2 separate regions of the Homo sapiens genome follow, and region 1 is linked to region 2. Evidence: promoter capture Hi-C in 16 types of primary human blood cells and fetal thymus (Javierre and others, 2016). All regions are on one chromosome and are shown on one strand. Each heading gives the region's core, a stretch centred on a gene start or on the middle of the fragment in contact. The rest is flanking DNA. Distances are from core to core; before and after follow the strand shown. Region 1 overlaps BIRC6 (baculoviral IAP repeat containing 6). Region 2 holds the start of HEATR5B (HEAT repeat containing 5B).

What was found. The method cuts DNA at HindIII sites, captures the fragments that hold promoters and counts their contacts. A CHiCAGO score of 5 or more calls a contact.
Region 1: a fragment that was not itself captured here is called in contact with the fragment with the promoter of HEATR5B in region 2 in 1 of 17 cell types (M1 macrophages); the score reaches 7.5 in M1 macrophages.

What each region holds. Positions count from the first base shown.
Region 1 is chr2:32,495,763-32,499,784 of GRCh38, reverse strand. It overlaps BIRC6 (baculoviral IAP repeat containing 6), which reads right to left. Exons shown (of 74, transcript NM_016252.4): 46 at 1-238. Among named protein-coding and RNA genes, the nearest start is that of MIR558, 34 kb to the left of the region's middle. The HindIII fragment of the contact is 6,283 bases long and covers 1-4,022 here.
Region 2 is chr2:37,082,988-37,087,114 of GRCh38, reverse strand. HEATR5B (HEAT repeat containing 5B) reads left to right here and starts at 2,743. Exons shown (of 36, transcript NM_019024.3): 1 at 2,743-2,846; 2 at 3,679-3,826. The coding sequence starts at 3,701. GPATCH11 (G-patch domain containing 11) reads right to left here and starts at 2,597. Exons shown (of 9, transcript NM_174931.4): 1 at 2,545-2,597. RefSeq lists enhancers at 2,506-2,665, 3,136-3,235. The HindIII fragment of the contact is 3,413 bases long and covers 211-3,623 here.

The DNA.
Region 1 (4,022 bases), core at 1,457-3,956, 4.6 Mb after region 2:
ACGAATAAGATTGGCAAAGAGTCCCCCAAAGCATGCTCGAGCACCCACGGAGCTATCTGATCCACTTCTTGACATTACTTTGTCTGAGCAAGTGATATAGTGGTGCACTAAAAATGTAACCGATTCTATCACGGCAGAAATAGTACTAACTGAAACGACTTCAAAATTCTGCTCCAGAGTGAATTCTAAGAGCTTCACTTGGGCATCGAGAGGTCCTTGGCCTGTCTGGAAAGCACCCCTGCAGAGAGAGAGAGAGAGAGACAGAAAAAGAGAGAGAGAGAGAGATACAACAAGAGAAAGGATTAAAAATTAAACGATTTTAAGTAGTTCTGAAAGTAGTAACTTATCACAATACAAGAAAGTTAAACAAATTCTTGATATTCACTATTTCATTAGGTAGCTAATAGTTTTCATCTCTTTTGGAATTCTTGTTCTTGCCTCCATTTTAGACAAACTCAAAAACAACCTCCCTTCCAAATACAAAACTAAGGGACAAGTATATCCGGAAGTGATTTTGAAGCTACAGACAAAAATACTTCAAAATCACAAGGCACTTCTTATAATGAAATGAGTTCTAATTTTTTCCATTCTCAAATAACGCTATTGTAAACATTTCCTACTGATAATGATACATAAAAATTAAGATTCAATCAAATCATTCTCAAGTATCAAAATTGAATGCTCTTCAAATTCTGTTTATGCCTAAGATATAGAATGCTGAAAAGTCTAACAGCAAGTCAGTCTAACAGCAAGAAAAAGGCAAATTAGGCCAGGTGCAGTGGCTCATGCCTGTAATCCCATCACTTTGGGAGCCCCAGGTGGGCAGATCACTTGTGGCGCCAGGAAGTTCAAGACCGGCCTGGCCAACATGGTGAAACCTCATTGTTACTAAAAATACAAAAATTAGCCAGGCATGATGGCATGTGACTGTTAATTCCAGCTACTCAGGAGACTAAGGCAAAAGAATACTTTTGAGTTTGAGACCAACCTGGCCAACATGGCGAAACCCCATCTCTACTGAAAATACAAAAATTAGCCAGGCATGGTGATGGGCCTGTAATCCCAGCTACTCAGGAGGCTGAAGCATGAGAATTGCATGAACCCAGGAGGAGGAGGTTGCAGTGAGTTGAGATCACACAACTGCACTCTAGCCTGGGTGACAGAGCGAAAGTCTATTTCAAAAAACAAACAAAGACTGTCTAAAGCAAAAAAATAAAAAATAAAAAAAAGGTTGCACAGTATTGTGTTTATAGCATATATAAACAGTAAAAACATGACAACTATGTCACAAAAGACGGAAGAAAGGAACTGAAACTACACTGTTAAGTTCTGACATTATACATGAACGGAATAATATTTTAAAGTGGAATGTGATTAAATAAAGGTATATCTTGTAAAACTAGGACAACTAATATTAAAAATTTTCGGTTATAGGCCGGGCACAGTGGCTCATGCCTGTAATGCCAGTGACACGGGTGGATTGCTTGAGCTCAGGAGTTCGAGACTACCCTGGCCAACCTGGTGAAACTACGCCTACAAAATATACAAAAATTAGCCGTGTGTAGTAGCATAGCAGAAGCCTGTAATCCCAGCTATTCGGCAAGTTAAGGCACGAAAATCACGTGAACCCAGAAGGCGGAGGTTGCAGAGAGCCAAGATCGCACCACTACGCTCCAACCTGTGCGACAGAGCAAACAAACACTGTCTCAAAAATAAATAAGAAATTCAGTTATAAATAAGGATGGAAATGAAATTATTTTAAAAGTTGCTTAATTCAAAAGTCAACAGAAAAAGATTTCTTAAAAGGAATCAAAAATAGATGAAATAAATAGAAAAATAGCAAAATGATCAATTTTAATCCAGCATGTCAATAATTACATTAAATGTATGTAGTCTATATAGTCTATATAGACCAATTCTGACTTTGTCAAATGCTTGTATTAGAAAAGAAAGGTCTAAAATCAATTATCTAAGCCATAAAGATCAAATTAAATTCAAAGAAAGTAGAAAAGAAGAAATAATCTATAAGCTGCCTTTTTTTGAAATAATATTGATGAACTTCTAGCCAGAATGACCCCAAAAAAAGATAAAAATTACCAACATCAGAAATGAAGGAAACTTATAGATCCTATAAACATTAATACATATACATATTTCCACTAACAAATACAACAATGTAAAGGAACAACTTCCTTCACAAAATTACCAAAGCTCAATCAAGAAGAGAAAACCTGAATAGTCCAAGACCTAGAAAATAAGTTGAAAATTTTTGGGGCAAAGAAAACTCTAGCCACAGGATGCTTCAATGGCAAATGCTACCAAATACTTAAGTAAGTGACAATACACATATTACACAACCTCTTTCAGAATAAATTCAGAGAATAAATTCAGCAAGTTATAAAATGGACTGATATGTTATGACCAAGGGTGTCTACCTTGAGAATGCACATTAACTGACACTTAGCAAAAAAAATCAAACTTGGTGTAGTGGCATATGCCGATTGGGCCAGCTAAGAACAGAATGAGACTGAAAGCCTGCTTGAACTCAGGAGTTCAAAGCCAGCCTGGGCAACATAGTGAGATCTCAACTCTTTAGAAAACACCAATATAATTCAACGTATGAACAGATGAAAGAAGAAACAATCTATGTTCATTTCAACAGATGCAGGGAAACATCTAACAAAATCCAGAGACATTCATAATTTTTTTAAGGTCTTAGCAAGTTAGAAACAAACTGGAACTTCCTCAACTTACTATCACATATCTAAAAAAGAGCTCCAGCTAGTAACATATCTAATTATGAAAGACAATGTTTCATAAGATCTTAAGATTGAGAAAAAGAAGGAAGAGTAACTTTTACCATATGTACTCAACAGCATACTTGAAGTCCGAACGAGTACAACTGGATGGGGGGAGGGGAACCCATGAGACATATGCATAAGAAAGGAGGAAATTAAACTAACCGTATTCTCTGACAATATGGCCAAACAAGCAATACATCTGCCCAAACTGATCTACAGAATGATGCAATCTCACTCAAAATGATTTTTTTCTGGAAAATCAATAAGCTGATTGTAAAATTTATAAGGAAAAAGGAATGGAATTAAAACAGCCAAAATAACTCTAAAAATAAAGAACAAAGGTGGAGAGCCTACACTACTAAATTTCAAAAAATACTGTAAGGGAACTAAGACAGTGAGGTAATGCATAAAAAACAGACAAAAACATAAATTCTATATAATACACTGTATGAACAAATGAGGCTGGGTGTGGTGGCTCACGCTTGTAAACCCAGCAATTTGGGAAATGGAGGCAGGTGGATCTCTTGAGGCCAGGAGTTTGAGACCAGCCTGGCCAACATGGCAAAACCCCATCTCTACTGAAAATACAAAAATTAGCCAGGCATGGTGATGGGCCTGTAATCCCAGCTACTCAGGAGGCTGAAGCATGAGAATTGCACGAACCCAGGAGGTGGAGGTTGCAGTGAGTCTGAATCACGCCACAGCACTCCATCCTGGGCGACAGAGCAAAGTTGTCTCAAAAAAAAAAAAGTGTATGAATTAGATCAAAACAAGTATCATTGATTGATATTTGAAAAACTACAAAGGGAATCCAATGAAAAAAGGAAAGTATTTTCAAAAAATGGTCTACGAAGGCGGGGTGCGGTGGCTCATGCCTGTAATCCCAGCACTTTGGCAGGCTGATCACGAGGTCAGGAGATCAAGACCATCCTGGCTAACACGGTGAAACCCCGTCTCTACTAAAACTACAAAAACAAAATTAGCAGGGCGTGATGGCAGGCACCTGTAGTCCCAGCTACTCAGGAGGCTGAGGCGGGAGAATGGCGTGAACCCAGGAGGCGGCGCTTGCAGTGAGCCGAGATCGTACCACTGCACTCCAGCCTGGGTGACAGAGAGAGACTCCGTCTCAAAAAAAGAAACAAAGATATAGGAACAGTTGGACATCCACAGGCAAAAAAAAAAAAAAAAAAAAACTTCATCCTGAAAGCAAAAAATAACAAG
Region 2 (4,127 bases), core at 1,494-3,993:
AGAAGGTCTTTTATGGGTGTTTCTGAACTGGGAGAATGTGAAGCTGGGCTGTGGATGGCCATCTTCTTGGCCCCATGAAGGGATCTTGTCTGAAGAATGAAGCCAGATAGAGAAAATGAGCCTAGTTTCCAAGGCTGCGGATTCTTTGAAGCTGCGACTTAGCATTCTACCCCATTACATAGACTAATACATTTCTGCATTACTTAAGCTTGCTGAAGTAGGGTTTCTGTCAACTGCAACCAAGTGTCTAGACAATTACACTGGATGAAAAAAGGATTACTATACTAATTTTTAATGGTTTTCTTTTTTGTTTTTTGAGACAGAATCTCGTTCTATCACCCAGGCTGGAGTGCAGTGGTGTGATCTCAGCTGACTGCAACCTACACCTGCCGAGTTCAAGCAATTCTCATGCCTCAGCCTCCCGAGTAGCTGGGATTACAGGCATCCACCACCACACCCAGCTAATTTTTGTGTTTTTAATAGAGACAGGGTTTTGCCATGTTGGCCAGGCTGGTCTCAAACTCCTGGCCTCAAGTGATCCACCTGCCTCACTCGGTCTCCCAAAGTGCTGGGATTACAGGCGTGAGCCACCACACCTGGCCTGGTTTTTTATATTTTTAATGTATATCTTCTCAACTAGATAATGTATATCTTGTGTTAAACACAAAGACAAGTCCCCTATATCCTCCCTACCTACCACTGCATCCCAAACACAAATGCTTAATAATTGTTTAGCAACAATGAGGATAAAAAGGGTCTTTAATATTTGTAATTTTATAACTTTTTCCTATGTCAACAAGTCATTTTTAAACACTTTTTAAATACGTACAGAAAACACATAAAACAAATGTACAGCTTAATACATTTCTGTGAGTCAAACATTCTTGTAACCATGTGGTACCCTCCAAAATGACTCCCAGTCATTCTTGCTGTGTGGTTTTCTACATCCTTAGTGTAGTCTCCTTCCACAGTGAACAGGATTAACCTGTGTAACCAACAGGATTTTGTGGAGATGATGGAGTTGATTTTTTGGTCATAACTGCAGCTCTTAGGTCATTCTAACTTTGAAGTTAGATGACTCACTTGAAGGAAGTCAGTGGTCACATAATAAGGATACTCAAGAAGCTCTATGGAGAAGGTCACACGATTGGAACTGAGTCCTCCTATTAAAAGCCAGCACAAACTCATGAGCCACAGGAGTGAGCTACCTTGGAAATGGATTCTCTTGCTCCAGTCAGGCCTTCAAATGACTCAGCCTGGGCTGGCATCTTCACTGCAACTTCTTAAGAAAGTCCATGCTAAACTAAGCTAAGCTGCTAACAAATTCCTGACCCATAGAAACTGTGAGATAACAAATGATTACAGTTATCTTAAGCTGCTACATTTGGGGATAATTTGTTATGTAGCAAAAGTTATCAGGAAGTAGAACCTTATCAGGCACCTGGGAGCCCTCTTTGTCCCCTATCCAGTTGCAACTCTCTTTTGGTTCTAAGAATAGTCACTATTCTGTTTTTTATGGCAATCATTTCCTTCATTTTCTCGATAGTTTTGTCATCCACGTGTGCATCTTTAAACATTACAGTTTAGTTTACCTATTTTTATTATAAGTTAAAAACGTGCACTATTATATACAGCATTTATGGTAATTCACCCGCTTCCTCTAAACCTCAGATTCTTCATTGGTAATAACAGCATTTTTACACATAATGGTTTAACACTTACCCAGTATATCACACATTTTTATCACATTTAACCACCACTAACAACTCTACAAGGTAGGAAGAGTTTTTCCTGTTGGAGAAATTAAGGTTCAGTATGGCTAAATGACTATTTCAAAACCACAAAGAATCCGGGTCATAGTGCCTTGCAAATAGGATTACATTGTTTTTAAGAGACCTACTTAACTTTAAAGTGCCAGGCACATCTGAATGGGGTTACAGGTTGCTTTTAAAGCTCTCTTTCTATTGGTAAAATATACTTTAGCATTATCCATTTCCATCAAAGATAAGCATAAACTTCACAAGGCGATACCCTGGCAGAGATGATGGAGGCTCGTACCAGAGTGATAGCAATGCAAGTGGTCGCATTTGGGGTACACTTGAAGGTAGAGCTTACAGGATTTGCTGATGTTGTAGGTAGTACGTAAAGAACGATGTCAAGATAACGCTAAGTTTTTGGCCTGAATACATGGAAGAACGGAGTTAACGTTTTTTGAGAGTGGGAAGACTGTAGGAGTAGGTTTGTTTTTGTTTTTTTAGGGGGCGTAGTCGGGAAACAGACATATTGAGAGTCCCATTACATATACAAGTGGAGAAATGGACCTACAGTATAAATGTGACAAGAAACGTCCCACTCTCAATACTACGCTCAGGAACCGCTGATCCCTTCCCTCACGCGTTCCTCCTGGCTGCAAGCGTCCCACAGACGCAACCACCCACGGATGGAAAAGTGGCTGACGGTGTGATACGGTAGTCATGGCCAGCGCACTCTGCCTTTTATCATTCTACCGGTTGTCCCCAGACCCTTACCTGACAGCTCTCTTACCTGACAGCTCTCTGCTCGCCCCGGTTCAGCGCCGTAGAGCGCGCGCTGCGCATGCGCCCACCGACCAGCGTCGGACTTCCGGACCTCGGCTCCCACCAGTTTCCTAGTGCAGACTCTATTGGAAATTCGCGGCGGGTGGGGATAGGAGGACGTGGTGACTGCGCTTGCGCAAGACCAGCCCTCCGCGCAAGCGCTCTTCCCTTGTTTCCTGCAGGTAGGAGTGCGGGAGGTGGGGCATCCGGGTCTCTTGGTGGCTGCTTCTACCCCCGGAGCTCAGCTGATCTTCCCTTCCAGACTACGAGGTGAGGTCGCCGAAGCATGCATGTTGACACGCACGGACTCCTGTCCGACGTACATTTTCAGACGGGTGGGGAAGACATTTGAGTTCGTAATGAACATTTTCCCTTTTCTGGCTCCGTGCTTAGTTCCGAGCTGCCGCCTCGTGCTATTGACAGCCTGCGGAACCCCACGGAGGCTTGCGGCGGCCTCTTGGTGTTTCCCCGGGTCCGCCGCTTGCGGTTCTTGGAGTAGCCAGGTGAAGCCAGACCCCGAGCGCGCGAGGCTTCTCGGGTGCATTCCGGACCGCCTGGTGTTGTCACTGACGCTTCGGCCGCCGGGCCTGGCCGCCCCACCCATCCGCGTAGGAAGAGTCTTGGAGACCTGCAGTTCGGGATGTCTGTGCTGGGTGTTTTGACCTCAGTCCCTCTGGCCAGGTGCAGCGCGGGAGGGTAAAGGTGCTATGTACCGAACCCTGGACGAGAAAAAGAGGAGGATGGTTGTCAAGCCCGGCTGGGGTGTTTGATCTTAGTGCTTCAGTTTTTTCATTTATAGAACGGGTAAATGACATATGTGTTGCTGGACATATTTCTTCTGGAATAATGCCTTTTTTGGCAATAATTTCTTTTAATTTTCTTTTCACTCCATGAGTCACTCTTCCTTACCAAGTAGTTTTCTTCTGTTTTTGTTTGTATTTTTGTCATTTAAAAGTATGTTCTCAGGTTTTGCCTCAAAGAAGTTGAGTTTTTCCCCAAATGAAATGAGTAGTCCTACTTTTCTTAGTGAGTATATTCCATTAAGCTTGACTTTTAACATTAAAAAATACTTACAAGTATTTTTTACTCTGTTAAATTTAAGGTGTGAATTTCAAACTTCCGTAATGGAGTTAGCCCACAGTTTATTGCTAAATGAAGAAGCTTTGGCTCAAATCACCGAAGCAAAAAGACCAGTTTTCATCTTTGAATGGTTGCGATTTCTTGATAAAGTCTTGGTTGCTGCCAACAAGGTATGGTATTGCTCTTTTTTCCCAGTTGCATTAACGTGAAGAGATTATGTGGTCATGATTCTTAAGAAAACACATGTTATGTTTTGGAAGGTTTATGGGTCACTTATGGAACTTGAGAGTATTACACGAATGGGAAATTTAGTGGCAAAACTCAAACCTCGTTTAAATCCAGCTCATTGCCTATCTTCTTTATGTTTGTACCTGGGCAGCTCATTGTAACTGGAGAAAAACATGGCTATATGACTGGTGTCACTTTAAATTTATCATCGTCACCCGTTGCAAGTGATCTCTCTATGCTGCC